3 separate regions of the Homo sapiens genome follow, and regions 2 and 3 are each linked to region 1. Evidence: promoter capture Hi-C in human tissues and cell types (Jung and others, 2019). All regions are on one chromosome and are shown on one strand. Each heading gives the region's core, a stretch centred on a gene start or on the middle of the fragment in contact. The rest is flanking DNA. Distances are from core to core; before and after follow the strand shown.

The links. The method cuts DNA at HindIII sites, captures the fragments that hold promoters and counts their contacts. A contact is called where the count stands out against the background at its distance.
Region 2: a fragment that was not itself captured here is called in contact with the fragment with the promoter of RBM24 in region 1 in 2 of the 25 tissues and cell types used here (dorsolateral prefrontal cortex and liver).
Region 3: a contact is called between a fragment that was not itself captured here and the fragment with the promoter of RBM24 in region 1, in 1 of the 25 tissues and cell types used here (pancreas).

What each region holds. Positions count from the first base shown.
Region 1 is chr6:17,279,798-17,282,781 of GRCh38, forward strand. It overlaps RBM24 (RNA binding motif protein 24), which reads left to right and starts at 1,564. Exons shown (of 4, transcript NM_001143942.2): 1 at 1,564-1,952. The coding sequence starts at 1,785. The HindIII fragment of the contact is 10,579 bases long and covers 1-2,984 here.
Region 2 is chr6:17,225,211-17,228,194 of GRCh38, forward strand. No RefSeq gene overlaps it. Among named protein-coding and RNA genes, the nearest start is that of RBM24, 55 kb to the right of the region's middle. The HindIII fragment of the contact is 4,463 bases long and covers 1-2,984 here.
Region 3 is chr6:17,322,019-17,325,002 of GRCh38, forward strand. No RefSeq gene overlaps it. Among named protein-coding and RNA genes, the nearest start is that of RBM24, 42 kb to the left of the region's middle. The HindIII fragment of the contact is 9,108 bases long and covers 1-2,984 here.

The sequences.
Region 1 (2,984 bases), core at 314-2,813:
GACTCCCGTAGAAAGGACTTAAAAGGCAATTGTGCACCAACAATGGTGGATGAAACCTTCTGCTCACATCAAATATTTTCATCCAAACCTCAAGTATGACTGATTGATTTTAAGGCCTAATTGAATGAATTCTCAATTAAAAGAAGTTGCAAAAAGCTGATGTAAAGTAATAAATATATATGGGGTGCCCTATGTTCTACAAATGCTTTCAGGTCTGCTGGTAGAAACCACTGGTTATGCAATAAGTTGATTTCAAAAATTATACCTTTTACATTTACATCCAGATAAAAACAGATGAGGTCAAGCCACTAAACATTCTTGTAATTCAAAGAGAAAGAAATAGATTAATTCTTTGTTTAGGGAAAAAAAAAAAAAAAGAACGACTTATGCTAAGACATCTGTACCAATCTTCCTGAATAACTAAGTTAGGGAGGAAAGACAAATTTGGTGACTGTGGGGGCTAAAATACTAACTTATGGTCCTCTGAAATAGAAGGCGGTGCCTGATGGACATAGGTATCTCCGGTTACTTGGTTTGGCTGGGCGGTAGCAATTAAAGCTAATGGTTTTCCCAACTACACCCAAGCGCTAGATCTTTCTTTTCCTTCTGGCTCTACCTCTCTGATACTTCCCCGCACTGGCTTTTTGGGGCCAAAGAAAGTTGGGGCCCTCCTTCTCACTCTTCAGACCCCAGGGTGTCCAGCTTGGGTTTCGTTCGGCCGAGCTCCTTGACCCCCCGCGCCCGGGAGGGGATTGGCCTCTCAGCGAATCGCCCCAGGCCTCTGGGGACCCCAGTTCGCCAGTCCAGGTCGCCGGCCCTGTCACCGAGGCCTAACCCAAAAAGCTCGCGTCGTCCCCTCTGGAAAGCAACGCAGCTTCCTCCTTGGGCACAGTCCCCGCACCCTGGGTCCCGGCTGGTGCTGCGCCGGGTCCCTAAGACTTTGACTGGTTAGAGCAGGCGACGCCGAGAGCCAGGCCGCCTACAGGCGTCTCCAGCCCTACCCCATCGCCGGCTACAGAGCGGGAGCCCCGAGCCCCAGCGCCGCGCCGCGCGGGGAGAGAAGCAGCTGTTCCCAACAGCTGGGGGGCGGCGGCGCCCGGCGCCCCAGGTGCTGCCGCGGCCAATCGCAGGCGTCCGGCCCGCCCCCCTCCCCAGCCGGGCGTCGACCCCCGGCCCGCGGGGGAAGGGAGCAGAGAGGTGGAGAGCTGTCCTCGGCACTCGTCTTCCAGATCCCACGGCGGGAGGGACAGACCAGAGCCGAAGCTGCGCGGAGTTCCTCGCCCCTGGCCCCGCCGCCGCGCCCCCCGCCCGCTTCGGCGCTCGGACGCTCTTCCCGCGGACCCTCCCCACACCCCACCCAAGGCACCTGATTCCTAAGGAAGAAAAATCTACCTCTAAAGCACCCGCTTCTTCGCTTGAGAACTACCCTCTCTTTTCATTTTTGGCCTCCCCGCCGGGTGAGTGGAAACCGCTTGCACATTCTATAGAACCCGATTCTAATCCAGACGATCCGGAGAATTTGTACGGTGACCGGCAGGGGGGGCGGGAGGAGAGAGCGAAGTCAAGTCTCCAGGGCCGCTGGCGACTTCGGAAGCCGCGCGCCCGGCGCTCTCGGCCGCCCCCGGCCGCTCGCCCCCGCCGCGCCGCCGCCCTCGCCCCCGGGCTCGCCCTTGGCCCCCGGCGGCCGCGAAAGGGTGCGGGAGACGCGGAGCCGGAGGAGGAGGCGCAGCCGCTGCCCGAGCCGCAGCCGCAGCCGGAGCCCGAGCCGCGGGGCGGGTGCGAAGATGCACACGACCCAGAAGGACACGACGTACACCAAGATCTTCGTCGGGGGGCTGCCCTACCACACCACCGACGCCAGCCTGCGCAAGTACTTCGAGGTCTTCGGCGAGATCGAGGAGGCGGTGGTCATCACCGACCGGCAGACGGGCAAGTCCCGGGGCTATGGATTTGTAAGTTGCACGGACTGGGGGTGACGGGGAGGGACGGAGTGGCGGCTGACCCCGGGGATCGGGAGCTTGGAGTGAGGGGCTCGGCGTGACCCGTGAGGAGCCCCGCGGGTAGAGCGGCGCTGCCCCTTCGCTCCGGGGTGAACTGAAACTTTGCTAGGGGAGAGGGTCGGCGCCAGCCTCGCGGGGTTCGGAGAAGACCCAGCGCTGTGCGAGGTCGGGGGCCGGGCAGGGCAGAGCAGGGGTGAAAGGAGAGACCTGTAATGACGGCGGGATTTGGGGTGCGGAGGGTTGCGAGGGAGGGGCCGCAACCCTGAACAATTGCATTCCCGGGCTGGATGCCGGTTGTTAAGCGCGCTGTTGCTTTGTAAAAATGCGTGTGTTCTGGTGTTTTGGCTGGGGCAGGGAGGGGACACCCCACGAGGTCTGGGGCTGTTGCCCTTGTGTCATCCCCCCGCCTTTTAACTGCAAAGGTAGGTTCTTTTAAATCATGATCCTAGGGCTCTTTGCCGAACTGAAACAGAGCATATTAAGCTTCCTTCCTAGAGATTTAAGCGTGCAAATTCAGCTGCCGAAGAGCAGGGAGCCCCAGAGTAGGACAATAGCTATTGTCGTTGGGGAGTGTTTTCGAGGTTGGGAGCGTTGGGCGGATGTAAGGCTGGACTTTCTTTAAAGCAAACGGTGCCTCTGAGGCTGAGTAGGGACCTGGGGGGCGGGGGATTCGGGGGAAGGAGGATCTAGAGTTCCAAGAATTTAGGCTTCCAAATCTCGGCTAGGCCCTACTAACACCCTTAAGATTTCGGCGGTGGGGTGGGGGGAGGCAGGGTTAGAGGGTTTCTTTCTTTTTTCCTTCGTCTACCCGCCCCCCCCCCCCACGCCCCCGCCCGCCTGTTAAAAATGGGAGATCAAGGAGGAGGGTCCAGCCAAAAGAAGCAAAGAATAGAAAAAAAGTTTGATCTCAGTTTTATCATGAATGACTTCTCCATTGTGATTCTTGATTTCCTTCATGGGTTAATTTAGAGGTTATGTATGTAT
Region 2 (2,984 bases), core at 257-2,756, 55 kb before region 1:
CCCTAATATTTGGCAGTACAGATATTTTGTTTCACCCTCAAAGTATTGGTCAATGGTCCCAAACTTGAAGATTTTACATAAATCTTCAGATTTCCAAAAGTCTAAAAGATCTGCCAATACAGGGCCTTTGAGATATTTGGCTGAAGCTGAGCTGTGGTTGCCCTTTTAGTGGAAGCCTCCAGATTGCAATGCTCCCAGCACTCCCCCATTGTCCTGGGTCCATTTATTATATCATCGCTGTAGTTTTTCTTCTACCCTCCTATTTCTTTCACTGGTGTCCATTTGAGTTTGTGACTTTTGCCCTGGCCATAGACAGCATTAACAATGAAGCAGAGCAAACAGGTAAAGCTTTGGGCTATCCTACTACTTCTTTCAAAAGTTTTCCCCTGATTTTAACTCCTCTCCCTTCTCTTCAAATCCAGAAAGTTAGTGTTTTCTTACTGTCCCAAGTTTTCTTTGCCTGGAAGAAAGAAATGTGGTCATCCTATTCACACTAAATTGTTAGTGATTTAATATGTCCTTTTGGGGAAAAAATAGCCAGGATTTGCTAACCTTTCCAAATCGTAAAATTCCAGCTATTTTGGCATTTGGATGAGTGACACATTTTGGGGTGGTACACTTCTCTATGACCCTTCAAACCACAGCTTGTGGACAATTACTCCTTCTCCATTTTATGTCAGCCAGCAAAAATGTTTGCCAAAATGATCAGAACAGCTGTTCATTTTTGCTTGTCAGGGTAGTGGCTTGCCAGGGAATCCCTGTCCCAGTTGGGTTCTTCCTGGGAGAAATATTTACATAATTTGTTCCTATTCTGGGATGGGGTGCCCTGTGTGTTTTAGCCTACCAGAAGTTTACTATGTGCTAATGGTGTGGTGTGGCTATAAAAAAAAAAGGGGTGTGGCATGGGGAAAGAAAAGAAAATTTGAACATAAACTTAGCCAAATCCATAGATAGAAAAAGCACAGGAAGTTGTTTCACTGTGCTCTGAAATCTTAACTCACATCTGGGGATTTGTACAGATTATTCGGGGCATCCACATTTAGAGAAGAATGCTGACAAGTCAAGGGCATCCTGAGAGGGGAGAGGTGAAAACTAAACCAAGAGTAAGAGAAGACTAAAGAAGCACTTGGTGGCTGCTTGCAAAGGTTGGAAAGGCTGTCACCAAGAGGAGGAACCACATGGATTAGTTCTTTGTTGTGCCAAAGAACAAACTAAGACCAATGGATACGAGTTAAAGGATGAGAGTGGGAGGAGATTTTGGCTCAGGAAATAAATCTAACAGCTACTAGATAGAGATTGGAGAAAAATGACTTTCCCTTTCACTAAAAATATCCTGAGAGAGGCTGTTTGACCATCTGTTTGGAATGCTATAGAAAGAATCCTTACCCTGGTTGGTGGCCTGATTTGATTTTTGTTGGGACTCTTCAGAGCAAATTCTACGTTTGTATGAATTCTGCTTGCATATCCTAGAGAACATGTAAATCCACAAATGCAGAATAATGTCTCTACCTACTCCATTTGAACTTCAGTATCATCACTTAGGTGCAATTACATCAATGTTCTCTTTCAGACCTAGTATCTGTATTACTGAAGTCAGTGATTTCTGCAGTCTTCTCTTGATGCCCCTTGGGTGAGCATACTTTGTATTCTTTGTTGTCAGTAAGCATGTGAAATAGATTTTCACTCAGCAGGGTTTTTCCTAATTGCTCTTGCAAAGAAAATGATGTGGCCAATTGTTTATTCCATTGATAGCCTTTTTCTGTCCCCAGAATGTGGCCAACATATGTATGACTCACATTCACAGGACAGAAGGATTGTTCTGGCTTGTGCTTCTACTTCTTTTAGCCAATTGGAGAGTTATTTATAAACATTTATTGATTTGGATTCATAAACCAAAGTGAAAAAAAAAATCTTGCAGCACTGGTTGCTATGGTAACTAGCATTTCACACATGTATTCGCCAGCAGCGATGGCTCAGAACAGAAACCCAAAGCCTACCTGTAGCTTCTAACTGCATTTTCACTCCTATCGCATTTTTAACTGAAAATCGGTGACTTCCTCCATCAGTGTCAAGTGGGAGCATGGTATGGAGGCAGGAAAACAACAGCTTTTTTCATTTATTTTTGAGGTGATTTCTGTAGTTTTCTTGGGGTTATTTTCTAGACAGATGTGACTTCTAATCAATGTTGATTGTCAAGAATTAAAGAGATTCCATCGCAAGTTCAGCTCTCTGCCACGTGTTGACGGTGATATGGAAGAAACCTGGGTTCCATTCTTTATCTTCAAGGGAACTTATACTATAGCTAGAATCCAGGAGCACAAATATAAAGCAGCAGGCAGGCTACACAAGAAAAAAAATGTAGTTCAGTGCTAAAATACACAACATACATGATAATAGACGCAAAGCATGCTGGGAGGAGCACAGGTTGCAGAAAGAGACAGAACTACTTTGAACTGTGTGGCCTCCTGTAAATTACATCACTTTCTTGTAAATTTTTACATTTTTTATAACTCATTGAAATGAGAACCATATCAGCTCCTAGGGTACTCCTGTTTTGTTTTGTTTTGTTTTGTTTGTTCTGTTTTGTTTTGTTCTGTTTTGTTTTTTGAGACAGAGTTTTGCTCTTGTTGCCCAGGCTGGAATGCAATGGTGTAATCTCGGCTCACTGCAACCTCCGCCTCCCAGATTCAAGTGATTCTCCCGCCTCAGCCCCCCAAGTACCTGGGATTACAGGCATGTGCCACCACACCCAGCTAATTTTGTATTTTTAATAGAAATGGGGTTTCTCCACGTTTGTCAGGCTGGTCTCAAATTCCCGACCTCACGTGATCTGCCTGCCTCGGCATCCCAAAGTGCTGGGATTACAGGCGTGAGCTACCATGCCCGGCCCCTAGGGTAGTTGTAAGGATTAAATAAGATAATTATATAAAGTACCTAGAATAATATCAGACCCATAGCAGCACTCAGTTAATGGAAATTATTAT
Region 3 (2,984 bases), core at 357-2,856, 42 kb after region 1:
AACACCAAGGGATGGGGACACCTGTTGGGTAATTTGGGAGATGAAACTAGGCCCATTGTCTGATTATATGGAGAGAGGGAGACCAAATCTAGGGAAGATTTCTGATATGAGAATTTGAGAGACTTCTGCAGCTTTTTTTGAAGGGGTAGGAAATGCTTCTACCTAACCTGAAAAAGTGTCTACGGGGGTAAGAAGATATTTAGTTTTTTTTGATGGGAGGCATGTGGGTGAAGTTTACTTGCCAGTGCTCCCTGGGAGTGTTCCTCTGAGCTGGCGTGTAGGGATGAGGAGAGGGCAAAGAGCCCCTTGGGAGGAAGTAACGAGCATATACGACAGTTTGAGGTTATGTCCTTTAGTGAGGCGAATAGATTGGGGGACGAGAAACAAGGGCGAAGGAGTAGGTACTGCCGGCGTGCATCAATATGGAAGGATTGGTGAAGAGGTGTTAGAATTTCCTTGGTTTGCTCTTGGGGAAGAATGAGCTTTTGATCTTTTATTATCCAGTCCCCTTGAAGGGAGGTTCCTTGCTGTAGTAGCAAAGCCTTTTTGGTGGGAGGGTATCTGGGTGGGACTGCTGGGGTGACAAGGACGATGGGGGCAAGGAGAGGAGAAAGGGAGGCCGTTTTCCTGCCTCATCGGCCTTTTTATTTCCTCTTGAGATTTTATCTGATCCTGTTTGATGTTCTCAACAGCGTATGACTCCTGCTTCAGTTGGGAGGTGTGTGGCCTGAAAGAGTTGTTAAGTAAGGGGGCCATTAGTAATGGGGGTTCTTTTGGTGATAAGGAATCCTCTCTTGCCAGATGGTAGCATGGGAATGAAGAATGTGATAGGCATACTTGGAGTCTGTGTATGTGTTGACCCGTTTGTCTTTGGAGAGGGTTAGGGCTCTGGTGAGAGCTATGAGTTCTGCATTCTGGGAGGAGGTTCCTGGGGGTAGGGTTTAGCCTCAATTACATGGTTTAAGGTAACTACTACGTACCCAGCAATTTTGGGAGAGCCGGGGGCTCCAGAAGAGGAGCCATCTATGAATAGTGGCCATCTGGGTTAGTGAGAGGCTCGAAGGAGATGTTAGGGAAGTGTGGCTGCAGGTGATCCAGAATGTCAGTGCAAGAATGAGTAGGAGGGGAAGAGGATATGGGGAGTAGGGATGCTGGGTTGAGGGGGGTGCTTTTGGCAAGGCTGAATTTGGGATTTTCGATAAAGAGGGCATGCAGTAACTGAATTCGGGAAGGAGAGAGGGAGCTTAACGCCTGAGAGGAGAGGAGATCCTGTAAGTTGTGAGGGCTGTGGACGGTGGTGCTTTGGCCAAATGTTACTTTCCAGAGCCAAAACGGCCGCTGCTGCTAATGCTCTAAGACAGGTTGGCCACGCTCTGACAGTGTTGTTTAATTGTTTAGAGAGGTATGCCACAGGGGCAAAGGAAGGAGGATTTCCCTTTTGTTGCCCTAAGACCCTGAGAGCTATTCCTTGGTTTTCGGTGGTATAAAAAACGAAGGGTTGGAAGATGTCAGGTAAGGACAGGGCAGGTGCAGTGACGAGAGCAGTTTGGAGTTTACAGAAACCGGGAAGTATGTTGTGTGAGGGGCTTAGGGGTTCACTGAGGGGGCCTTTGGCTGCTTCGTAGAGGGGCCGAGCCAGGAGAGCAAAGTTGGGAATCCATATTCTAAAGAAACCTGCTAGTCCTAAGAAAGAGAGAATTTCATTTTTTGAGGAAGACGGAGGCAAGGTGTTTATTAAGGTTGCTCAGGCCGGCGTCATGGCTTGGGCACCAGGGGGAGAGTTGGCCTCCTAAGTATGTTACTGTTGGGGCGGATAGTTGGGCTTTGGAGGGGGAGACCCTATATTCTTTGCTAGCAAGAAAGTTTAGAAGGGTGATGGTGTGAGTTTGAGAGTCCTCTAGGGAGGGGCTGCAAAGAAGGAGATCGTCAATGTATTAGAGAAGGTGGCTGGGGGAACAGTTTAAGGAGGTGAGGTCTTGGGCTAGAGCTTGTCCAAAGAAGTGAGGGCTGTCTCTGAAGCCTTGAGGGAGGACAGTCCATGTGAGTTGTTGTGACTGAAAAGTGTCAGAATCAGTCCAGGTGAAGGCGAAGAGGTCTTGGGAATCAGAGTGTAAGGGAATGGTGTAAGGGAATGGTGTAAGAAAGCATCCTTTAGGTCGATTGCTGTATAGTGGGTGGTGTTGGAGGGGATGAGGGTGAGAAGTGTATAGGGGTTAGGGACCACAGGGTAAATAGGGAGGACAGCCTGAATGATGGCTCAGAGGTCCTGAACGAGTCGGTATGAGCCGTCAGATTTTCTAACGGGAAGGATGGGGGTGTTATATGGAGAATGTGTTGGTCTAAGAAGACCACATGAGTAGAGCTTGTTTATAACAGGTTGGAGGCCCTTTTGGTGGGTTAGGGAGACGGGGTATTGGGGAATGTTAGGAAATTTGAAGGGATCCTTTAACAGGATTTTGATGGGGTTATGGTGTGCAGCTTCGGAAGGGGTGGTGGTATCCTACACCACTGGGTTAACGAGGGAGGAGGGAAGCAGGTACTAGGGAGAAGGGTCAGGGGCTGGACTAGTGGAGAGGAGCAGAAGGGACTCTGGTTGAGAGAGGCAGGAAAAAGTGATGGAAGCTTTGAATTTAGTTAAAAGGTCTTGGCCTAGAATGGGGGTGGGACAACCAGGCATGGTAAGGAAGGAGTGTGTAAAAACAGTATTAAACTAGAAACAAGTAAGGGACTCAGTGGTGTGTGGATGTGAGATGAATCCATCAACCCCCACGACAGAGACCTGGGAGGGATGAGTGGGTCCTGAAAATTCAGGCAAAGCCAAGTAGGTGACCCCAGTATCGATTAAAAAGGAGACTGGCTTTTACCTGCTACTAGCAGAGTTACCTGCTACTAGCAGAGTTACCCTTGGCTCTGATGCAGTGATGGCAGATGGGGCCAGGGGCCCTGGGCTCCATCAGTCTTCAGTGGCCAGGCCAAGGAGCTGC